6 separate regions of the Homo sapiens genome follow, and all the other regions are linked to region 2. Evidence: promoter capture Hi-C in 16 types of primary human blood cells and fetal thymus (Javierre and others, 2016). All regions are on one chromosome and are shown on one strand. Each heading gives the region's core, a stretch centred on a gene start or on the middle of the fragment in contact. The rest is flanking DNA. Distances are from core to core; before and after follow the strand shown.

Region 1 (4,337 bases), core at 1,391-3,890, 5.4 Mb before region 2:
ATAATTATTTTTTACGTTTAGCTTACCCAGGCCTTTCTACCAAGGACATAGAATAAGACAAAGCTGGTAGGCCGAGTGCCCTGGCTCACGCCTATAATCCCAGCACTTTGGGAGGCTGAGACAGGCGGATCACAAGGTCAAGAGTTCGAGACCAGCCTAGCCAAAATGGTGAAACCCTGTCTCTACTAATCATACAAAAATTAGCTGGACGTGGTGGCGGGCACCTGTAATCCCAGCTAATTGGGAGGCTGAGGCAGGAGAATTGCTAGAACCCGGGAGGCGGAGGTTGCAGTGAGCCAAGATTGCACCACTGCACTCTAGCCTGAGCAACGGAGCAAGACTCTATGTCTCGAAAAAAAAAAGAAAAAAAGAAGTTTAAAAAAAAAAAAAAGACAAAGCTGGCCATTTAAGTTAACAGCTACTATAGCCTAAGTATTTCTTCATGGTCAAGTTAACTGGGAATACTATGAAGGGACAGTAAAACATGAAGGCAAAGCTATGATGTGGTTACTTTCTCTATCTTTGTATTCAAAACATAAAATTTGGCAAGCTCACTGAAAAATACCGCCCAATTCTAATTACCTCATCAAACAACAAAATAATGGCTTCTTCTAAGACAGCTCCAATGATTCATTTCTTGTGAAATCCCTTCCCCTTAAGTGTGTGCTAGATTTATTAACTCACTTCCAATGAGCTCAATATAGTCAAGTGATAGGTGGTCCCTTAGAAGGTCACTTTTATAAAAAGCCTGTGGCTTTCATCGTGGGGACTCTCTCGGCTCACTCCCCCAGGGAAGGTGCTGCCAGGTACTGCAGCACTGCGGAGAGGCCCAATGGCAAGGAGCCAAGGCCTGCCAGTGACCCACCAGTAGGCTTGGAAACAAACTTCCCCTTCTTCTCCCAAGCTGAGCCTTCAGCTGAAGTCACAGCCATGGCTAACCATTTGCAACCTCCAGGGCGACTGGAACCCCGTTAAGCCACACCCAGATTCCTGACTCACAGAAACTCCGAGGTAATAAATATTTGTCATTTTAAACCAGGATGTTCTGAGGTAATCTGATATGTGGCAATGGATAACTAATACCACCACCAAATGTAAGGTAAAAACATTAGATGCTTTGAGGCAAGAGTAAAAAAAAAAAAATTCAAAAAGAAGACAAAAGGTCTCACCTTAAGCACTCTTCCTGAAAGGCCAACAATCTCACCATCCTTTGGCTCTACTTCTGTAGCAGTATTCACATCGCCACTTCCTGTTGTATCAATGATATCAACGATTTTTGGTTTTCCATCAGTTGTAACCTGAAAATTAAGAAAATTAAAATATGAATGGTAGATTTTAGGTTTTTATTCCTAAACAATGCAAATCCACATATATATGTGTGTGTATATACAAAATCTACATTCACTTAAAAAAGAGAACTGAACTGTTTTAAGCCAAAAGCCTGAACAAATACTAGTAAGAAAATTTAATCGTGGAAACACTACAGAATCCTTCAAGTCGTTTCATATATTCAATAAACAAATATTTACTGAGCATTTACTATAGACCACACCCTATTTTAGGTGCTGGGGATATGGCAGTGATCCATACGCAAAAATCCCTGACGATCTTATAGCGAGAAAGCAGTTCAGTTAATAACAAAGTAAAATAAAGAACATGTCAGATGTGCTATCACACTGGGTATTAGGGAAAAAAAAGAACATGTCAGATGGTGAAAATTAACTATGGAGAAAAATTAAGCAGGGAAGGGAGATGGTCAGTGTGGGGTTTTCAACATAAGTTTGGCTGGTCAAGGAAGGCCTTGCTGAGATGGTAACATTTGAGAAAAGATCTAAAGATGGTGAGCTGTGGGCTGGACAAGTTTAGAGCTTTAGGGGGAAAAAATGTTTAGTAGTAATGGTACCATTTAATGGCACCATTATTGGATGCCACACTAGCACCTCAAACGCAACAAAGTTCAAGCTTAACATGCCCCCCACCACCTGATTTTCTCCAGGCTTTGCCATCCCAGGAATCCCCACGCCCAGCTGTTCACACTGGAAACTTAACAATCCTCCTCTGATTCTTTACTTCAGTTGACTCCTCACAGCGAAGCTAACAGGAAATCCTGTTAATTCTTTGTCTAGAAGAGAGCTCAAATCCATTGCATTTTCACTACCACTATCCTAACTTTCCAAACCACCACCATCTCTTGCCTCCATGAGGTGAATTACCTAAGTGGTCCCTCAGTTTCCACTCTTGGCCCCATCAAAAGTAATACAGGCTGAGTGACCCTAACCTGAAAATTCCAAATGCTCCAAAATCATGGACATGAAGTTCAAAGGACATGTTCATTGGAGACTTTCGAATTTGCGATACTCAACCTGTATTAAAACAAGCTGTATTTTATCAGTCCTCTCCTTTAAGCCCATCAATGTATTCATGGAGCACTCAGAATACTCGCATAAAAAGCCTCGCACCATCTGACCCCTGCCACCCCGTTACTCAGGAGTCTAACCACGCCAACCTCCTTTCAATTCCTGAAACATGCCAAACTTTTTCCTGCCTCATGACTTTTTAAACAGGTTCCTTCTGCCTAGAATTCTTTATCTCTTCAGTTGTTCCACAGGATTCTATCTTCTCTCAGTTTTCTATTAAAGTCCCTCCTGCAGAAAGGCCTCCTCGATGACCTCCTTTAGGTAGCTGCCATCCTAAACTGGATTATTTTTTCTCACTGTACCTCATTTCCTTCACAGAACATAATTCTATTTCTAATGATACAAGTAGGTGATCTTCATCTGTTCCCCCTATTAGAATAGAAAGCTCCATGAAGGCAAGAGCCATGTCTACTTTATTCACGAACATACATATACCCACTACCTAGCAGTGCCTGTCAGGCATTCAATGAATACTTCATTACTGAATTACAAGACACAAGTTACTTAGCACTAAGACTGATTTTCAAAGGTTTGATTTCTTGCCAGTCCACAAATTTTCATTTGAGCCATAACATGATTGCTACAAGTAACAATATATATTTTTACACATTTTTGTGGGAAAATAATTTCTGGGCTCTTTCTTGGCTGGCTTTCCAAAGGGAATTTGTTGCATTCAGGAATATGTACTGAGTTACCAGCAGGAATCAGCCAGAAAACAGAGACACAACGACTGAAAAAAAAACAAAAAACGAAAAACAAAAAAACAAAAAAACAAAAAAACTCCATCCTCAAGAAAGAAACAGAAACATAAAAACCGTAGAAACTGTCAGTAAAGTGGAAGAGCACAGTCTTCAGACTCCAATTCCACCTGGAGAATTCACACTCTTTACGACAAAGCTTAATGTCCACTGCTCTGGGTCTTTCTGACCAACATGCCCCTCACCCCAACACAAGTATTTCCTCTGCAATAACCTCCAAGCTCTGTAATTAAGGTATACCCTGAAGAAGGAGAGGGAAATTCTCGATGTGGAGAAAACAAAAGCACACATTTTTTTTTCCTTTACCGGACAAAGCAAATGGGTGGTTGGTGGACCCCAAATCTCATTTCAATCTTGTTGCCATGGAACAACTGAGGGCCTGATAGCTGAAGGGGTCATAAAGGCCTCCCAGGCACAGCTGTTATTTTCATGTATGGTAATTCTCAAGTTGGATGTTTACTTCTTGGGAACTGTCCTATAATAGTAACAAATAAGAATTCTAATACTCAGAAAACTCAAAGTCATAATTAAAAAAAATCACTGTGGGAATCATACCAAACCCTGATACAACTATAAAACTTAAATCAGATACTGATTCTGAAGAGATAGGCTATATGTCTCAAAAATATAATTAAAAAAGAGAAAAATGTAAGAAAATCTACCAAAATAAAAATGGAAACAAAATTAAGTTGATACTACTTTATAAAATTAAAACTAGCTAGGTCATGTACTAATCATATAAGAAAATCACCTATTTTAAAATGTATTCCAATATGAAATTTGAAAGATATACAGTAGCACTAAGAACCCAAATCACCTATCTTCACCTCAATAAGCAAACCTGAGTGACTTGAGATCAAGAATAACAAGAGAGCACTAACAAGTCAGATAGATCTCTCATTAGAAACCTCATTATCAATATATTAGCAAAGGAAAAAAGCCTAATGGGATTTAATGGCTTATTTGTCACCTATTTCCACATGCTTTACTTACAAGGATCTCTCTCCTACACACACAAATTTTCATTACAAATTATTATACATGCAATTATCCTATCCATGAATTTCTTACTTTAATATTAGATAAAGAAAACCACTTCACTAGACATAAAAAGACAAAAACAGAAATGTAGGGTCAGAGGAGGGTTTTAAAAAGGCAAACC
Region 2 (4,230 bases), core at 1,731-4,230:
AAAAAGGAAGAGAAAATGCATGAGAGATTGAACCTACTTATTCTACTATAAGGAATTCTCTTAAGCTCAGCATCTAAATCCTCTTTTCCCAATTCTTGCTTGGAATCTTGAGTACCTGATCTTGAATTTCTATGGCACTCCCTGAGCGCGGGACTGGCTGGTAGCCATGTGATATTGATTTGTTTTCACCATAGCAACAGCAAATTGAAACAACTAGCAGAGAGAAGGCAGGCTGTTAACCAGTAAAGCTACCTAACCAGTATATTTCACAAGCATATTTTTCTCCTTCCCTCTTGTTTTTTCTCTTATTTACTCCACTTTCACAAATTTAACACAAAAGTCAAAGGAAAAACAGCATTAAATGTTTTGGGCACTACAAGGCCTGTGGCCAGAATAGTGTGCTTTGCAGAGCTTCTAGTATATTAGATTAGATCGATGGAAAAAATGCAAACAACAACGCTTTGATTTCCTTGGAAATTTCATTTGTTGAACTAAGAAAAAGTATCCCTAAAAAATTTACATGAGCACAAAGTAGAGTGAAGGGTTTTGTGTATATGACTATGTATCTTAATACTCTAAGGTGTTTGCCAACAGTTTCTTAATACCGAGGTTTTATCCCTTTGTACTTTAAATAGCTCAATGTGCCAAGAGACAAACAACTTTTTTTTTTTTTTTTTTTTTTTTGGTAAAAGGTCAAGGTCTCAAAATGCTAAATGATGAGGGAAAGTGTAGCAAGTATGATTCAATTCTATTAAAAGACAGAAAAATCAAGGTAGGCACTTGCTCAAAACTACGTGAGTAGTCAGAGAGGAGACACAAATTAGCTTTGGGAACTCCCGAGAACTCCAATGTGCTCCAGTCAAAATCTTTTTTAAAAGGTTCCTTTGTAAACATTACCCTTCCCCCGATCTCTGTGACCAAGGTTGCCACCTGTGACATGGATTTGCAGCCTGCAGTATTGTACTTCCCCTGCTTGGGGCCATCTGTGCTAGGACATGATGATTTTTCTATGAAAGCAGCTGTTCTCACCATCACAACCAGCCTTGAACTTGGTGGCACAACCTGGATCCTAAATAGTGGCTCTGGAGCAACTGGGAATAGGGCCCCGGGGACCATCCACCCAGGTGGCAGCGCTGGGCTGCACCAAGGGGGAGTCAGGCCAGAAAAAAAGCTTTGCCCTGCTCCCTGCTGCTTTTTGCCAGCCCAGCCAGAAGCCCTGCAGAAAACCTGTGCTGACCGGCCCGACATGTGGCAGGTACAAGAAGATGCCCTATTTATGAGGGGACAGGTTTACAATTTACAAAAGACAGGCGAAAATATAAAGACATAACTTAAGTCCTGCCAGTGGGGAGTTAGAATGTTCCTGGCCAGGACATAAAGAAATATTCCTCTCCACAAGCTCGAATAAAGGAACACACAGCAGAAATAGTTGGGGGATGACGTCAGAAGTTCTGGGCTAGTGTCCTGCACTTCTCCTTGAAAGTAAAAACAGTGGGTCTAGAAGAATCTACGTGGCATTGCCCTTATTTAAATGAGTAGTTCTACTGCTCCTTGCAAAACAAGTAGGATAGCTGAAGAAACTTCCTCTTATTTAAAGATTATAAGAATGTTCCCCCTGCCTTTTTTAAAAACCTTATTGTCCCCAAAACACACACATTACCCAATTAACAAATAGCTTTCCACTTAACCTTTGTCTTTTAAAGGGACAGTAATGTTTCTTGTAGAACATTCAAGGTGGTGGTGGTTAGGCAAGTCAGATTTTTTTCTTCGCTTCAGTGCTTGCTAACTATTCTAAAAATGTTACACATTTATTGTAAACACATGCTTCCGAGGCCTAACAAAAAAGCACAGTTTCCTCATGCCTGGCAGAAATTTAAAACGGAAAAGGGCAGAAAGAATTCTTTAGCAAATATATCCTTTCCTTCTCCTGGGCCAAGTGTGTTAAAAATAAATCTTCTCCATCATTTCTCACTGCTGCTTCTCAGCGAGAAAGTTGATATGGTTCGGCATAGTGAAAACACAGCTTTAAAAGCTAGCCTGCCCTCATTAAATTATTCTGCTGGCTGTGTGTTCTCATTAAAAATGCATAAAGATCAGATAATTGCAGTAAGCATTATTAACCCAGCTTTACTTTTGAATATAATGGTTCCACTTTTAAGCTGGAAACAAAGGCTCAGACATGCCAGGAAAAGAAATGTAAACATTGAACTACAGTATCGAAAACTTGCCAGAAAGCTACCTCTTGCTAGGTTGTTTAAAATGTGCTTTTGAAACTCAATTAAAGCTGTAGCATTGTAGAGCTAGGTAGGTCCCTAATTTTTAATAAATAGACACATACGTTTGGCCAAACATTCAACCGATGATTATTTACCATGAATTTTTTTTTAATCCTTAATTGCAAGTCTGTTTTCAAATAATAGGATCCATGTAAACTTTATCTATTTGGGAACTAGCTATGGCAATATAACAATTTTTCACAGCAAGAAAATAAGATTGCTCCAAAGAATTCAAATGGTTTTTAAAAAATAATATAATAAATGAATCGATTCTTTGCATAAAAACTCGATTTCTTGCCTCACCCCAAACAGGCGGCATAGATTCAAGCTTTGCCATTTCTTTTTCTCAAATCAAAATGTTACGTAAAACTCCAGGGTCCCCCGCAAGTATTACAATTGAATTAGTGGAATCCAGTTTCCCTGGCTCCCGTAAGCAGCACACATGGAATGCAGCATACTGCAGCAAACTCTTTAAACATTCAAAAAAGGGGGGCGATTCTCCTACCTTGTTTAGCTCTGCCTGTCCTTCCCATTTACAGTAACCCCAGGAACATCTGGCAGAACCAAGTGGCCGAGGCTTCTCCACCGCATCATGAGAAAGAAACTTCCATGTAAATAGTTCTCATTCCCTGTTTATTGTACTCTGAAAGCCGTCTGCCGTATCTGGAAAATTTTACCTTCAGATGATGAAGCAAAGACAGTCTAAACTCTGTTGCTGTAAGCTGCAGCCCTTCCTTCCGACAAATCCCTCCCAGCCGGGGCCAGCCAATCCCCAGCCAGCTCGTCAGCCCTACTCGTCTGAAACTGGCCCTAATAGGATGACTGACACAGTAACACAGCACTTGCAGTGTGTAAAAACAGTGCATCCATACTGATGAAAGAGGAATTTCCCTCTCAGAAGAAAGCAATCATAGCACCAAGACAAAGTGGCACATAATTGGCAGAGCAGAGAGAGGGGTAGCTCAAGAAAACACCCTTGAAGACAGCCAGCTCGAAGCCAGGAGCTTCACCGTGAACACTTGGGAAAATGTGAAACTCCGCAGATTCCAAAGAAATCCAGGTTGTACATGAAACTGAAGTCCTTGGACTATCTGACAAAGCATATGTATATGTTTTTTAAAGGAAAAATAATTCAACGTCTGCCATGGCAGTTAATACCTTACAAAACATTTACATATTTCCATTATTGAGGAAGAATGTGCTAGCCCAAGTGCGTATTCAAAATCAAAACATGCTTATAGCTCTGGCACACACAGGTTTCCTGTATAACATCTGTTATTGCAGTGGTTAATTACTGCGGCCCATTTATCTTTCGTCTAAGTTTTCAGACCACTTGGGACTTCGATTAGGGAATGCTGGACAATAAAATTGATATCTATACACTACCCTTTTCTACTCTTGGCAGGCACCCACGAGAGGATTAGGTGTGCTTTAACCATCTTAGATGCCATTTGATAAATACTGTGCATTGGCTCACATTATCGTTAATGAAGCAATGATTATAGGAAGATGTTTACTGTTGAATACAAGGGGTACATGATCCAAGGGCCCCCATGAGGTGCCATTCCACAAAAGATGTTCTAGGAGGTGCTGGAGTTTCCTGAGATAAAGCAGAAGAAGAGAAAGTTTAGGAAGGGTTATTTATTTATTTATTTATTTATTTATTTCCCAGTCTACAGCATTTCTGTATGCCTTGAAAACAAAAACTCAAAAACATATGGCATTGAGCAAACACAACAAGCATACATTTTCCTCCCCTAAATACCACATTTTGAGAAAAAAAAAGTATGATGATTACATGATGAGACCAAGACAGAACAAAGCCTTTATTCATCTGAAAGGTTGAACCCAATGCACGATTTTTATAAGCAACTGTTCAGCGCATCTGTAATGAAGCAACAGAATGCAATGGAATGCTTTCTTTTTATTTTGCCATTGCATCTTAAAAACATAA
Region 3 (3,752 bases), core at 837-3,336, 5.5 Mb before region 2:
AACTCAAGATAGACAATCCAACAACTGAAAAAATGGGCAAAATATCGGAATAGAAACTTTATCAAAGAAGATATACAAGTGTCTAGTAAGTTCATTTACTGGAGAAATGCAAATTAAAATGAGATACTGTAACACAACCAGTAGAATGGCCAAAGTTAAGAAGGTGATATCATCAAGTGTTGATGAGGAAGTGCAAAGCTTGCAAGTCTCACACACTGCTAGTAGGAATGTCAAATGATAGTCATTTTGAAAATGGTCTGCTAGTTTCTTACAATGTAAAAAGAAATATACCACATCTCAGCAATTTCATTCCTAGATATCTACACAACATTACTTGAAAAGATATGCCCATACAAAGACTTGTAAACAAACGTTCACAGCAGCACAGCAGCGTGATTCCTAATAGCCTCAAATATAAACAATCCAAACATCCATCAACTGGTGAATGAACAAAATGTGGTACATCACACAACACAGTATACACAGCAGCAACAGGGAATGAACAGATACACCCAAAGTGGCTGAAACTTAAGAACATTACATTAGGCGAAAGAAGACACAAAAAATTACATATTGCGATTCCATGTATATAAAATTTCTAGAAAAACTATAGGATTAGAAAGCAGTTCACTGGCTGAGGCTAGGGGTGGGAACGGAGACTGGCTACAAATGAGCTTGAGGGAGTTCTTCCAGATGATTGGGAAGTGCTAAAAACCCAGATTGTGCTGATGGCTGCATTCCAGACATTAGACTGCACACTTGAAATGGTTAAACTTTATCATATGTTCAGTACACTTCAATAAAGCTGTTAAAAAACCCACGGTTTGTCCCAAATGTTATGCAAATTTTCTTTCAAATCCTCTATCTTTCAAATATACAATGTAGAGGAATCTATTAAGAAAATTACAGCAATGAAACTTGTTCCTTTAAATGTCTTCTTAAAAACTTTTCACATTTCCAGGGCAAAGGAATATGATCCTATGCTTATTTTGTAAATGAAGTGTCCTTTTAGAATGGCTGAATTGATTAGTCACCTTTTTCTTTACACTATTAGAGAAAATTTTAAATAAAGTAGACTAACTGTACATTTTAAATACGTGCAGTTTATTATATGGCAACTATAGCTCAATATTCTGCTAAGTAAGTATATTTCAACTCATGGAAAACCGTGGTTAATCTAAAACATTCCTTTCTCTGCTCCCATATTAATTTGAATCAAATCAGACAAATCATTCCTTTTGTAAATTCAGGTTGTATCTATACAAGATACGTAACCACAATACTATCACATCTAAAATATAATTTTATATTAAATAAGTAACATTATACGTTAAAATATGTAGTGTTCAAATTTCCAATTGTCTTGTAAGTGTCATGACATTTATTTTTAGTTTCAATCAGAACCCAATCAGGTCCAAATTTGATTAGTATGTCTCTTAAATCTGATCCTCCTTTCATCTTGGTTTTTTGTAGAATTTCATACTACTGCATTATGCAGACTGCACCATTAGAGTGTCCTTTAACTTGTTCCTCAATCCTCTGTTGTTTCTGTAAATTTCACATCTTAATGACTCAGGCTTGAAACCATCTAGCCCAAGCCCAGCTTAGATCTGCCAAATTCCAGGCAAGTTACACTTATTAGTGAAAATAAGTTAGACAGATGAGTTTTGAAGTAGCTTAACTTTTAAAATCACACATAAAATGAAATTACGAAATATATTTCCAGTTGCTTTGTATTCTATTTGCATTTTGGTAAGACCTGGCCGATTCTAGAGTGAATTTGGTTTACATGACTGGGTATGCAGGCAGCCCTAGCTGCACAGTGAAAACCTGACAGCTGGCACTGACACTGGAACTGTAGTTATACATGTTTGTCCCTCGAGAGAACTCAGCTTGAATTCATTACAAACTTGCCTGATGTTTGAAATCTTCTCACAAAAAAAGGGGTTTTAAATGAAACTAAAACAGTACATTTGCAGAACTGAGTGCAGAGGCATTCTGCAGCAAAGTGCTAGCAGGTACTGCACCATCACATCCTGACCTGGCTGTCTCAGGGTATCAGAAGGCAGGTAGAAATTCTGCTGATTGGGATGCCCAAAAACCCTTCATGTTAGAGCGTCACTTACATCCTCCTCTTCTGGTTTCCGGGATTTTACTTAGTCAGCTTCCCTTTTTCAGTTTACCACCCATGACTACTGATAAATTCTTCACCCCTTGGTTTGCTATGTTCAGACTGAGACTCTTGAAATTCAGTTTCTCACTTCTTTATTCCTCAAAAAATTCTCTCCATTCAAGGTTTCCTCCCCTTCCCCTTTAGGGGAGATAGCAAGAATCCCTATTATCTATCTCCCTATGAAGGCTTCTCTGACTTAGATCCTAAAGGGAAAGACAAAGACCCATGTATTCTGAATGCTGGGTTGCTGGGAGGACGGAGAACGAAACACAGTGGAGGCAAAGACTCAGTTAATTCAAATGAAATAATTTTTTTAGTTGGAATAGACACACTGATTCAACACCACGATTTTCTTAAGGAGATTCATGGGGGTCAAGTGATTTGACTTGTCAGTACTTGAGCCAGGATTAGACAGCAGAGACCCAGGCTGGGGCTTCCAGTCATCCAGTCCCTGCACATTTCATTAGAGCTGGGGGTGGAGGGAGAAAGGGTTTGAGATTTGTGGTGCCTAAGAAGAGAAGCAGGTGGGGCTCTTCTGCGGTAAAGAGAAGTTCTCCCAGAAAGCATGCTAACATGAGGAAGGAAAGAAATCCCATGAGATGGCAAAACTCCTCCCAGTAACAATTGAGAACTGCCTCTTATTATTGGAAAGGGGCCACAGAACCAGTATTGAGCACATACCCTGTACTGTCTCTAATGGTTCTTTAAAAAGTTATTTTTACCTAGTTTTTTCAATTGTTTTCAGTGGGTGTGCAAACATTGGCTACTGTGACCAGAAACAGGAAAACTGCTTGACTTTTTGAAGTACCATCCTACTGTTTGTATTATTTTTAATGTAATCACATAGAAACAGTAATGATTTTACTGAGAACATCTTCTAGAGCTTACTTGGGTCCACTTGTCACCACAGAAATGCAGAATGAACCAGACAGGAAACAGGAGCTAACATGGCAGCTTTGTATAACTGCCTCCAGTTACAGGAGTCACAAATGAATAGGCATGGCTCTGTTCCAATAAAACTTTATTTACAAAAACAGGCAGCAGTCCAGTTTGGGTTAAAGGGCCAAACGTTACTGATTCCTGCTGTAGGTAGTACTTACCTGAAATAGCAAAACCTGGGTTGTAAAGCAAGGTCTGTAATTAATTTCCAACAGTTGATCAGCCGTATAACCTTGGGAAGTCATCCTACCTTTACTGAGCTTCTCCATTCTCTTACTGGACTAAACCTATACAAATGGGGACCTGTATGTGTGTGCAGGTGAAAGTCCATGAGTGTGTGAGAGAGAACATGCATGTAGCTTTCATGGATAGACTTTGGACCCTAGCTAGCCCAGAAGGTGTGACCAATATGCTTATACATGTATTTATGTTTCTCATAAACGCTCTAACACTTCATGAGATACAGCAGAAACAGTTGGGAGTGACTAAGGATTACTGGTAGTAATTTTAAGCAGCAGTAAATCTTAAGAGAACAAGATAAAAAAATCATACATACACACAATTTGCCATTAGATAAGGGACTGTAAACTTTTCAATACTACTTTTGTCTGTTTATTTGGTGGAGGAATGACGAGAGATG
Region 4 (4,193 bases), core at 1,694-4,193, 9.3 Mb before region 2:
ATGGGGTTTATGGGGATTACAATTCAAAATGAGATTTTGGTTGGGAAAACAGCCAAACCATATTAAGGAGGAAAGATACATTCATGCATCTCCTATTTTTTACATTAAATTGTTCTTTGGAATGATCTGGATTTGAATGATGTGTTATTTATATTTGGCTATCCTAATTATTCAAACATGAACTGAGAAAATGCTTTTATTGGAGAAGGGAATGGAGGAAGGGAGGCAACTAAAAATTTTAAGAGTCTGAAAACAAAACAAAACAAAACAAAACAAATGAAGCCAAACTTATACTTAGGATAAAAAACCATGCAATTCTCTTCTTTCAAGGTGTATTCGGCATATATTTATCGAGGTTAGCTAACCCATAGGGTGTCAGTGGACACAAAACAGTCAAGATGCCGAGAATTTGGATTCTGGTGGCAAAAAATAGTCAATAAAGAAATACATGAGAAAATAAGGTGAGTTCAGGGAGTGTGAAATGTCAAGATTTTGATAATTATACTATAAAATGCAGGCATAAAATGTGTGTGTTCCTCATTCCTTCAATGCATCCTCAGAGATGATCCCTGGTAAATTAAGGGCTTTCATGCACTTTTTCCTTTTTTTTTTTTTTTTTTTTTTTCCTGGCAGCAGCCAAAAGACATGGCCAGAGCCTGAGCAGGGTAAATATCATCTTTTTTTTTTTAGACAGAGTCTTGCTCTGTCACTTAGGCTAGAGTGCAGTAGCCCGATCTTAGCTCACTGCAACCTCTGCCTCCTGGGTTCAAGCAATTCTCTGCCTCAGCCTCCTGAGTAGCTGGGATTACAGGCACCCGCCACCACGCCTGGCTAACTTTTGTATTTTTAGTAGAGACGGGGTTTCACCATCTTGACCAGGCTGGTCTTGAACTCTTGACTTTGTGATCCACCCGCCTCAGCCTCCCAAAGTGCTGGGATTACAGGCATGAGCCACCACGCCCGCCCCAATATCATCCTCTTTTAAAAGCTCCATAATCCCCTATACCTCTACATCCAATCTCCAGTGGTCTTATAAGAAGAGGACAGACGTACAGTAAAGATGGAGACAGGGACTAAAAGCCAAGGAATGCCAGCAAGCACCAGGAGCTAAGTGAGAGGCAGTGAACAGATTCTTCTCCAGAGCCTCCAAAGGAACCAACTTTGCTGACATTTGATTTTGGACTGCTGGACTCCAGAACTGTAAGTGAATACATTTCTGTTCATTTAAGACATCAGTCTGTGGTAATTTGTCGGGGCAGCTCTAGAAAATTTATACACTAACTCATTGGAAATAACTATCTTTATCATTAAACAGACATCATTCTGGATTATATATATATGTAATATACATATATATAAACAAAATTCCAGATATATCTATACATCATATCATATATTCACACCATATATGGATATATAAACCATATATATCATTCCCACTGGATAGATAGGTACAGATACGTACAGACAGATGGTTAGATTGACAGAAATATTTCTACTATAATGGGGGTAATTCTATACATTCTATATTAAATGTGATTTTACTTGAACGTATCTGAAGTAAAAGAATAGATCTATCCTTCTATTGCACTGTTTTCCTATTTCTGTCCTAAAATCTTGTTGTTCAGTTTATTCAATTTTGTGTAGGGCAAACAGGTACTGTTTGCTACGGTCTAAATGTTTGTGTGCCCTCCCAAACCCAGATGTTGAAATCTAATCACCAATGTAATGGTATTAGGAGGTGGGGCTGCTGGAAGATGACGGTATTAGGAGGTGGAGCCGCTGGAACACGATGGTATTAGGAGGTGGGGCTGATAGGAGACAAAGGTATTAGGAGGTGGGGCTGCTGGAACATTATGGTATGAGGAGGTGGGGCTGCTGGGAGATGACGGTATGAGGAGGTGGGGCTGCTGGGAGATGACGGTATGAGGAGGTGGGGCTGCTGGGACATGATGGTATGAGGAAGTGGAGCTGCTGGGACAGGATGGTATTAGGAGGCGGGGCTGCCGGGAGACGATGGTATTAGGAGGCGGGGCTGCCGGGAGACGATGGTATTAGGAGGCGGGGCAGCTGGGAGACGATGGTATTAGGAGGTGAGGCTGCTGGCTCTGCCCTCATGAATTGGATTAGTTCCTATCTTAGTCCATTCAGCCTACTATAAGACTACCTCAGACTGGGTCATTTATAAACAGCAGAAATTTATCGCTCAGAGTTCTGGAAGCTGGGAGTCCAAGATTAAGGCACTGGCAGATTCAGTGTCTGGTGAGGCCTCACTCTCTGCTTCATAGATGACACCTTTTTCTATGTCTTCACATGGTAAAGAACGGGTGAACAAGCTTCCTTGGGCCCCTTTTATAAGGGCATTGCTATGGCTTAAATGTATGTGTCTCTCTAGAATTCCTATGTTGGAGCCTAAAATCCACTATAATAACATTAAGAGCTGAAGCCGTTTTGGAAGTGATTAAGAAATGAGGCTCCACCCTCTTGAATGGGAATAGTATCCTTACAAAAGAGGTTGACAGGAGTGTCCTAGTTCCCCCCCCTTTTTTTTTGCCCTTTTGCCTCCCATCCCTTCCCTCATGTGAGGACACAGTGTTCGTCCCCTTCTGTGGACCCAGCAAAACAAGGCACTATCTTGGAAGCAGATAGCAAGCTCTTATCAGACACTGACTCTGCTGGTACCTTTATCTTGGACTTCTTAGCCTTCAGAACTCTGAGAAATAATGTCTATTATTTATAAATCACTCAGTCTAAAGTATTCTGTTATAGCAGTGGAAATGGGCTGAGATAGGCACTAATTCCAGTTATGAGGTTAGAGCCCTCATGACCTAATCAATATCCCAAAGCCCCACCTTTTAATACTATTGCACTGGTGATTAGGTTTCAACATATGAATCTGAGGGAACACAAACTTTCAGACCCTAGAAGTGCCACTAAAAGAGAGCTCAGAGAGCTAGCTTTCCCCTTCTATCATGTGAGGGCACTGTGAGTAGGTGCCTTCTGTGAGTCATCTGTGAATCTCTGGGTCCTCACCAGCGACCAGATTGGCTAGCACCTGGATCCTGGATTTCCAACTTTCAGAACTGTGAGAAATAAATTTGTTGTTCATAAGCTGCCTAGTTTATGATATTTTGTTACAGCAGTCAACACAGACTAATACACTACTCTTCTTTGTTTCCAAGTTTTCTTGATAATTAATTATGTGATCTTCCATATAAAACTTAAAATTAATTAGTTCTAAAACACATATCCCCAAGAGAATTTGGGACTCTCATGAGAATTGCACTAATTTTGTAATTTGACTTGGGAAGAATTGACAGTATTTTTGATACTGACTACTCACCTAAGAATACAGCATGTTTTACATTTACTAGGGCCTTATTACTGCCTTTTCAGTAAAGGTTTATAATAAAGATTGTGTAACTTGTTAAAGTTTATCCCTAAGTATTTTATGGTTTCTGTTGCCATTGTGGAGGAAATATTATTTCATTTTTAATATGTTTTTGCTTATTCAAATAATTCTAATTTTTCTTCTACTTACTTAAGCTTTATTATTGCACTCAATTTTAAAATTGAGGCACCTAGATTTTCAAGGGTTCCTGTCATCTGCAAATATTAACATTGCCTTTTCCTTTTAGGTCTTAACAATGACACAGTTTGTTGTGCCACATAGGGACGAAGCTTTTCGTGGCTAGGGTTGAGGAGGGCTTGCTGGTTATGTGCAAGGGCTTTGCACAATATGATCTAGGTTCACGTCCCTGCTCTGTCACCTACTGGTTGTGTGACCCTTATTTAACCTCTGTGGACCTCAGGGTCCTCATCTCTGAAACGTGGATAATAGTAGTACTTAATTCAGAATTGTAAGAATTAAGCACTTGTTAATACATTAAAGCATTTAGAAGGCACATTAAGCCCTATAGTAAGCATTAGGTTACATTCATCAAAACCTGCTGCCTACTTACCTCCTGCAAGTCTCATAAGCACTTCAGAAAGTGTGGTGTCTCCATTCTACGAATGAGGAAACTAAGTCCAAGGCAGCAAGTGATGAGTGCAGGGTCACTTGGAGATACATTTTAGGGCTGCCCCACAAGACCAGCTCCTAGAAAATAATGCAATCAATCAACTTCTGCGAGGCCGGACTTAAATCCCACTAAAACGTGCTTAATTCATTCAACAGGCGTTGGCATCTTACC
Region 5 (4,210 bases), core at 1,418-3,917, 5.2 Mb before region 2:
ACATTTTATAGCTTCCTTCTCAGTCTCAAGGCCTGTAGTCTACTGTTCACACTCGAGCCTCTCGCAAAATACACAAGCTCAAAAGCTCATGGCGTTCTCCCCATCTGGCATTCTCGGCCTTAGAATAGCAAACGTTAGGGCACCATTAGGTTCATAGTTGCCAGACCCTTCATTTTCTTTTTTAATCTTTAATTTTCTTCTTAACAAGGAAGACATTCCGCAAAAAATAAACTCCCTCTTTTGAGCTCCTTTCTCTGAAGATGGTAACTGGAACTCTCATTAGTAAAGAACCTCGAGTTCCAGTTGCTTTGGACGGAGTTTCTCGCTTAGTATTTTGCTCTTTGGCAGTTTGAAAAGCAGTAATCTTCCAACTTCGCAGCTCCCTGCACTCGCGCCTACCACCCTGATCTATTTGGCTTTCTCCTTTTTGGAGCCACTTTAAAAGGTGCAGGGTGCTGGGCCGCTGTGGCCTCGGGCTGAGAGGCGGGGAGTTGGTGTCCGGGACCAGAAAGTTTGGCAGAAGCCACGGCTCTGGGCCCAGGCCCCGGGCTTCCAGAGAAGTGTGTCATTATTTGTTTTCTGCAAAGCCGCGAGCGGGCCCACGCTGCAGCTCTGCCTCCAGGCGTGGAACCCCTCGGTAATCCGGGTGAAGCTGGGTTCCGAGTGTGGACTGCTTCGGCTCTGAGGAGGAGGGAGCCCAACGGGCCAGGCACGGGCTTCCTCCTGGCTTTACCCATTGGCCCAGAGTCCCCGGTCCCGCCGCCGCTGCCCTCTGCTCACGGGGACCGGCCATCACCGCGCTCCCAGCCTCGGCTCGCCGGGGGCTTCGCTACGCAATGCGGCGGAAGCGGCCCGTTGGAGCCGCCGTAGCGCGGGAAGTTTCCGTTGCCACGGAGATGACCTCTGACCCTAGGGCGTCTCTGGGACCCGGCAGCTTGTGCTGTTGTTGCTATGGAAACCATGGCGGCCGGAAGCCGCCGCGCGGGAGAGACTTGGGGCGCGGGTCGGGGCTAGGGCTCCTGCCCTGGCAGAGATCTTCGCTCTTCCGTGGTGGCCGGGGACCGGGCAGTGAGCGGCCGGCTCTGCCGCCCGCGGGGCGCGGGTTTGCAAGGTCACTCCTCCGGCGTTGACGCGGGGGCACCCCATGTGCACTGCTGGACCTGAGGGATGGGAAAGCCACAGGTGGCTGCCTTGGCCCTCCCGGTCTGGCCTCCCGCTAGCGGGCGCCAGCTCTGGACCCGAGACCCATCTGAAGGAAAGGGAAGGGAGCTGGCGTTGCTGGTGATTCTGCCCAAGCTCAGGACTGGGAGAGAACGAGCCAAGTTCTGGTCTCAGCTTACACACTAGCTACTGGGAGACCCTGGGCGGGTCCTGAAGTTTTCTGGGCTTCAGTCCCCTCGGCTACTACAAGAAGGATATTGATTAGAGTAATCCCAGATCAGCCCCAGCTCTAATATTCTAGGTTCCCATAACGTTCACACCCAGTCCTGATTGTAAGTAAACTTCCCTCACCCCTTCCCTGTATCTCTCCCGGACTATGTTAACTATATATTTAAATTGTACTCTAAATTCAGAGACCATCAGAGATAAGAGGTTGACCTTAGCGATCACAAACAACCTGTTCCTTTTACAGGTGTGGCAACTCCTTCCCAGTGGAGGAAGCGACTGTTCCAAGAGCCAGTTTTGGAATTGTAGGCACAAACACAGGTAGAAGCTTTGAGCCTTGGGTGAAGAAACGCGTATTTTACTGGTGACACTAGGAAGAGCTCCTCATGCGCTTCATAGAATTGTGTGGTTGGTGCTGAAATAGATGGCATTCCATTTATCCATTATATTCCCCAGATACCTTTTCCTTAGACAGTTTTAAGATTTTCGGGGTAGGGGAGGGTATCTTCACTAGTTTATTTTTCCTTCTCTCATATCCATGCTATTGGGAAAAATCTTTCTTAAATCTTTTTTATAAACCTCATTTGTAAATTAAGAAGTTGAAAAAGATTATTTTCAGAGTTTATTACAACTCTGAAATTTATGAATTATTTCTTTTAGGTCCACGTGCTTTTTATCACTTTTTCAGTAACTACAATCTCAAAAAAACAAAAAACAAAACTTAGTAAACACTTAAAAAGTGCTGCTGTGTTTGAACTGTTGATGCTGGAGATACAGGGGTGAAGAAGAGTTCTTCCTTCAAGGAATTAGCAGGAAAGACAAAAGACAGGATCAATTATGATGTGGTGAACAATTCTGTGTAGGTGGACCAAGGTGCTATAGGGCCAAGGAAGAGGGGCATGGAAAGGTTTCTGGAGGGAATAAAACTCAGACTGAGTCATGAAGAATGACTAAGAGTTAGCCACGTGGTAAAGGCACTGGTTAGGCTGTCAAGGAAGAGAAAGAAGCATACTTTAAGCTTTGGGGGCGTCAAAGATTGTGGTGCAGACCGAGAATATCAAGTACAACTGAGAAATAGAGGGTGTTTCTAGGGAGTGGCAGGTAGTGAGTGGGGTTGCAAGGTAGTGAGGCACAGATCGTGAGCTCTCTTCTGTGTCATGATCATATCTACCCTTTAGACAACCATTATGACTACAGCGTGGAAAACAGCTCTGGGTTGGGCAAGGTTGAAGGTGGAAAGACCAGGGAGGAAGAGCAGTGAGCAGTGGTGAGCGGTCCAGAATAAGGCAGTGACAGGCACTAGAGAGGAAGTGAAGTCCATCCATCTTAGTGGCCAGTTTGAATTTGGGAAGGAAGTTGAAGGAGGAGTCTGGAATTTTCTGATTACAGGTTTTTGATTTGGACAGTTCTGGTGAGCTAGTCTTCTGGCCATTTGCCAACAGAACACTTCCATCTTCTTGAGACATGGTTGGCTGTCTTCTGACTGTTTATATTGAGGGGCCGAGGTAGCTTTTAACAGCAAGTAGGAGACTTAGACAAGCTTCTCTTTCTAGATTAAAATTTAAATGGACAGTTCTGGGAGAGTTGCTGTGGGATAAAAAGTTCATCTTGATTTCAAACCCGAAAATCCTTAGGACTGGGAAAAAATGCTTTACAATAAAGATATGCCAAAATGATTTTTTTAAACGATTATGTACAATTCTTTGTCAATAGCAGATGTTTTTATGGACACAATACTTTGTTCAGTTTGAGGAGTCAAGTAGTGCAATTAAAAGCCAAGTTTTCAGATTTACTATTCAGGTCTGGCAAGAAAAGAGAAGGAAGTATGAACTTTATTGAATTTACATATGTAAGTTTGCACACGTGCTTTTTTAGATAGGAATGAATGTAGTTAAAATGCCTTTTTTTCCTCCTGTAGCATTTTGTTGTCTGCACAATTATAGTGGATCACTGAAGTGTGTGGTAACCTTATCTGTAATGCTGCATCTTAAAGGTGTAGCTTGGGAGGGATTGTAATATCTGTTCTTTCCACTTCCTGTGTGGAGCACATGGTATAATATTGTACTTTAAGAAATATGAACATAAGAAGGCTTAAAGACTAAAAGAGAAATCATATCTCATAATTGTAGTCCTTTTTGTTTCAACAGCCACTTATTTGTAGTCTGAAACTCATCTTCTTTAGTTGTATTGCTGCTGTATACCAGGTGTTGTAACTTTTAAGCAAAGAAAGGACCCTGTCTGCTAGGAGAACTGAGTCAGTTTTCTACGTAAGCACTCAGTAGTAACCATCATTTGGCCTTAGCATTTTATTGTTGGGACAAATTGAAAGCAGTAACACAATATGCTCTTTCCTCCTTCATTGCTAAATGAGTTGATTTGTTTCCTGAGAAGTGATGTTTTCCATTAACTTGATTATTTTTTCTTGTACCTTTAAAAATTTTTTCAACTCACATGACAAGTAACATAAAATACCTCACATCTCAGACAAATAATAATGACTGTTAAATATTGGAAATACTTTTAATGAGATCAGTACCAAATGTTAGAGATATTTTAATGATGCAGTTAAGAAATTTGATATAGGATAAAAATTTTACATCATTATTGCTTATTATTATCTCTTTTCTAGTTTTCTTTTAAAATGTTGGGAATAATTTTAAACAACACAGTACTGAGGCCATTCTGGTACATGTGTGGCAGATGTGACTCTGTATGGGGGATACTAACTGTGACATGAATGCTATAGTTAGTATGTGGTCTGATATGCAGCCATAAAGTCCGCCCAGCTTTGTCAGACCGCTTGCCCTTTGTTGTAGCAAAGTGC
Region 6 (3,888 bases), core at 1,008-3,507, 5.6 Mb before region 2:
TACATATAATATATACATACGTATATAAACATATACATGTTATATATACATATGTGTATATATACACATATATACATATATAGTATTTATACTATATGACTATATGTATATAGTATTTATACTATATGACTATATGTATATAGTATATACATACACACATAAATACTATATATAATATTTATACTATATATGTATACATAGTATTTATACTATATATAGTACGGATATATATTATATGTGTGTATATATACACATATGTATATGTGTGTGTGTGTATGTATATATATATATATATAGAGAGAGAGAGAGAGAGAGACGGAGTCTCGCTCTGTTGCCCAGCCTGGAGTGCAGTGGTGCGCTCTTCTCGGCTTTGCAACCTCTGCCTCCAGGGTTCAAGCAATTCTCCTGCCTCAGCTCCCGAGTAGCTGGGACTACAGGTGCCTGCCACTACGCCTGAGTAATTTTTGTGTTTTTGGTAGATGCCGGGTTTCACCGTGTTGGCCAGGCTGGTCTCCAACTCCTGACCTCAGGTGATCCACCCGCCTTGGTCTCCCAAAGTGCTGGGATTACAGGCATGCGCCAGGGCACCCGGCCACTGGCTAGCTATATTTATACCTACTCCTTCATCGTACGCTAAATAAGGGGTGGGTTATTCACGAATTTTCTAGAAAAGGGGTGGGGAGTTCCCCGGAACTGAGAATTCTTCCGTTTTTAAACCATATAAGGTAAGGTCTGGGCATTGCCATGGCATTCGTAAACTGTCAGAGTGCTGGTGGAAGTGTTGTAGCATGTTCATGTATTATAATTAGTGTATAATGAGCAGTGAGGGCACTAGAGGTCACTTTGGTCACCATCCTGGTTTTAGCTGGCTTGGGCCTGTTTCTTTAGGGCAGTTTTGGCCGTTTTTTTAGGGCATCCTGTTCTGACCAGATCCTGTTTTGCTCAGCAGGTGGTGATCAGTGCTTGGAAAGTCCTGCTGATCTCCTACCTCAACTATAACTGTGCAAATACTTTTCAGGGGGATAATGGAAATGTTCTTAAATTATAGTGATGGTTGCAAATGGTTTTAAAATTACTGAAAATGATTGAATGGTACACTTCAAATGAGTGAATTTTATGGCATGTAAAGAAATGTTTTTTAAAAACACAGCTAAAAAATTAGGAGACAAAGAAGTATTAAGACTTTGTAATTTGGGGAAACACTTGTGATAAATGACAGCGACTATGTGGTTTTGTGGAATGTATTTCCTTGTATGTACCGTGACAGAAAAGAGGGCAGGTGCCAACTGCACTGGGCTTGGGGAAGATTCATTCATTTAAGAAATTTTTTTTTTTCTGAGCATTATTCATACACAAGAGGTTCACGGTTAAAACAAAAATTTACAAAAAGCAACCCTTTCTTCACCTGGGAGCTTATAGCGCAGTGAGGAGACACAGATACATCCATAGCTCGTGAGGTGACCGGGGAAGGACAGGAAGAGCGGGGAGGTGATCAGGGGAGGCCTCGCTGTGAAAACCACGCGCCCTGTCGACCCCGAGGAGACGCGGCCCACGCTGGGAGGGAGCAGCCAGGACAAAAGCCGGTCGTCGTGGGGTCCCGCCTGGTGAGTGGGGGTGAGGACAGCGAAGTGTGGGCTGCCCTGGGCTTCCAGGGAAAGGAGCCAGATGGAGAGGGGAGATGTGGGGGACCGATCGCGTGCAACAGCCTAGGCCACTGCCGGCCGCTGGCTGTGGCAATGAGCGCGGAGCCTTTGGAAGATCCAGGGGACAGGCTTCCACAGCATCCACGTGGCTGCGGCGTCGCCGACAAGGCCCAGGCGGGGGCAAGATGGTACGAAGCGACCATTTAAGTGATTGTTACAATCATCCCCGCAAAGATAACAGGGGGCTTGACCCCATGTAGAAGTGTGCGAAGCGGCTGGTTTCTGTCAGCGTTTGACCTTAACGGGAGTAACGAATCGACTATGGGTGTGAGGAAGACTGGTCAGAGCTGATCGCGCCTCGGAATGGAGTGGTGGCTGGGATGCGGAAAGGCCCCGAGTGGAGCAATCCTGGGTGAGGCGGAAACGGGGGCTGACTTTCCAGCCGTCCGCGTGCTACTGAGGCGGCGGCCACCCTGGCACCTTCCCCTAGCTCCGCTAGTCCGCGCGTACAGCCCTGGGATGTGGCGGGCTGGGAGACCCACGCTCCCGGCGTGCTCTGCGGCCCGGCCCGCGCACCCGGGGGGCGTGGCCTGCGCGCGCGTGCGTCGTAGCCGAACGCTGTGGCGGGGCAGGCGAGGCGGTCGCTTCGAGCGCGCTAGTCAGCTCCCTGAAGGGAGTGACGGCGGTTGGGTGCCCGCGGCCACTTTTGCCTTCCCGGGTAAGTGCGGCGGTGGCGGTTGGCGCCGCCGGCTGACGGGCGGCTTCCTGGGAGACGGGGAGAGCACCCGGCAGGCCCGCCTGAGACGTTTGAGGCTCGCGGGCGTCACTCCTCAGGGGCGTCTGGTCCGAGCCGGGAGGCGTTCCGCTAAGTTCGGTGCCCGCGGGCACCAGCCGGTGGGGGCTTCGTCCGCTTTGCCGGGTAGGAGGGCGGAATGTGGGGTTGGTACGGGCGGGGAGAGCCGGACGGGGCCAACCTGGACCACGTCAGCCAGTCCCGGGTGACTGGCTCGAAGTAGCCTCGGAGTTGAGAGGGGTCGACCGGGGCAGCCCGCGGCGCAGCCCCGGCAGCGCGCATTTGCGGAGAGAACGGATCCCGTGCCCCGAGCGCCGCCGAGCCCCGCACGCCCGTGAGACCCGCTTTGAATTTTCTCTCCATGTTTGCTGGGGTTGTTGACCCGACCCCCCGTAAGACTCGGACTCAACGTTTTTGTTTGCCCCACGACAGCCAGCTTAATGCTGTGGACGTAACAGGGCACGAACGTTTGTAACTGAAAGTTGAAGGGGCTGTGGCGTCTCCGTCCCGTGGCGTGGGAGGTGATCGCCCAGCCCTTGTGAGTAGTTGTCGTCCTAGAACTCCGCCGACCGCCTAGCCGGTGGAGCCGGCGCTCCGGACGCCACTAGAGCTGGCGTTTCGTGGGCGCAGCACCTCTAGCCGGTCATCTTCACCATCGCCATTGAGGGCACTGAGGCCGGGCCAGGCTTCAAACCCTGCCCTCTCTGAACCTGAAGCCAGAGATGAAAACCCAGACGACAGTGGCCTGGCACGGTGGCTCACGCCTGACCCCAGCACCATGGGAGGCCGAGGCGGGTGGATCACCTGAGGTCAGGAGTTCAAAACCAGCCTGGCCAACATGGTGAAACCCCGTCTCTACTAAAATTAGCTGGGCGCGGTGGCGGACGCCTGTAATCTCAGCTACTCGGGAGGCTGAGGCTGGAGAATCTCTTGAACCCGGGAGGCAGAGGCTGCAGTGAGCCGAGATCGCGCCGCTGCACTCCTGCCTGGGGGACAGAGCAAGACTCTGTCTCAAAAAAACAAACCCAGATGACCTAGAGCAGGTTGCTTGGGGATTGCATTATGGGGCATTTTCCGTGTTTCTGAAGAAAACCAGCATGTGTGCAGCTGCCGTGAAGAACACACTGTGCATCGTGAAGTCTGAAAAGAAGTAAAGCAGACCGGGAGAGGTGGCAAACGCCTTGGGATCCCAACGGTTTGGGAGGCCAAGGCAGGGGGTATCGCTTGAGCCCGGGAGTTCAAGACCAGCCTGCGAAACATAGGGAGACCCTCGTCTCTACAAAAACATTTAAAAATAATAAGCGGGCGTGGTGGTGAGCGTCTGTAGTCCCACCTACTCAAGAGGCTGAGGCGAGAGGATCGCTTGAGCTCAGGAGTTCGAGGATTCAGTGAGCTTATGATTGCGCCACTCAATTTTCCGGCCTGTCCGCCGGAGCGAGAACCTGTCTCAAA

The links. Contacts are between HindIII fragments. The CHiCAGO score rates a contact against its expected background, and 5 or more counts as called.
Region 1: a fragment that was not itself captured here is called in contact with the fragment with the promoter of MBNL2 in region 2 in 1 of 17 cell types (total CD4 T cells); the score reaches 5.2 in total CD4 T cells.
Region 3: a contact is called between a fragment that was not itself captured here and the fragment with the promoter of MBNL2 in region 2, in 1 of 17 cell types (total CD4 T cells). The highest score is 6.2, in total CD4 T cells.
Region 4: a fragment that was not itself captured here is called in contact with the fragment with the promoter of MBNL2 in region 2 in 5 of 17 cell types (total CD4 T cells, total CD8 T cells, naive B cells and 2 more); the score reaches 8.9 in total CD4 T cells.
Region 5: a fragment that was not itself captured here is called in contact with the fragment with the promoter of MBNL2 in region 2 in 1 of 17 cell types (naive CD4 T cells); the score reaches 5.3 in naive CD4 T cells.
Region 6: a contact is called between the fragment with the promoter of TEX30 here and the fragment with the promoter of MBNL2 in region 2, in 1 of 17 cell types (non-activated CD4 T cells). The highest score is 5.3, in non-activated CD4 T cells.

What each region holds. Positions count from the first base shown.
Region 1 is chr13:102,601,754-102,606,090 of GRCh38, reverse strand. TPP2 (tripeptidyl peptidase 2) reads right to left here. Exons shown (of 30, transcript NM_001330588.2): 2 at 1,170-1,298. Among named protein-coding and RNA genes, the nearest start is that of TPP2, 6.9 kb to the right of the region's middle. The HindIII fragment of the contact is 1,352 bases long and covers 1,965-3,316 here.
Region 2 is chr13:97,221,083-97,225,312 of GRCh38, reverse strand. MBNL2 (muscleblind like splicing regulator 2) reads right to left here and starts at 2,980. Exons shown (of 9, transcript NM_001382683.1): 1 at 2,782-2,980. RefSeq lists an enhancer at 2,899-2,958. The HindIII fragment of the contact is 4,024 bases long and covers 2,607-4,230 here.
Region 3 is chr13:102,679,384-102,683,135 of GRCh38, reverse strand. TPP2 (tripeptidyl peptidase 2) reads right to left here. Exons shown (of 30, transcript NM_001330588.2): 30 at 3,178-3,752. Among named protein-coding and RNA genes, the nearest start is that of METTL21C, 14 kb to the left of the region's middle. The HindIII fragment of the contact is 3,772 bases long and covers 201-3,752 here.
Region 4 is chr13:106,568,342-106,572,534 of GRCh38, reverse strand. No RefSeq gene overlaps it. Among named protein-coding and RNA genes, the nearest start is that of ARGLU1, 2.3 kb to the right of the region's middle. RefSeq lists an enhancer at 4,132-4,193. The HindIII fragment of the contact is 1,210 bases long and covers 2,339-3,548 here.
Region 5 is chr13:102,391,255-102,395,464 of GRCh38, reverse strand. It overlaps FGF14-IT1 (FGF14 intronic transcript 1), which reads left to right and starts at 946. Exons shown (of 4, transcript NR_036486.1): 1 at 946-1,111; 2 at 1,634-1,707. It overlaps FGF14-AS2 (FGF14 antisense RNA 2), which reads right to left and starts at 887. Exons shown (of 1, transcript NR_036487.1): 1 at 1-887. It also overlaps a transcript of FGF14 not described here. RefSeq lists an enhancer at 811-1,040. The HindIII fragment of the contact is 522 bases long and covers 2,407-2,928 here.
Region 6 is chr13:102,772,155-102,776,042 of GRCh38, reverse strand. TEX30 (testis expressed 30) reads left to right here and starts at 2,257. Exons shown (of 6, transcript NM_138779.5): 1 at 2,257-2,361. RefSeq lists enhancers at 1,147-1,824, 1,825-2,502 and a silencer at 2,085-2,424. The HindIII fragment of the contact is 5,388 bases long and covers 1-3,888 here.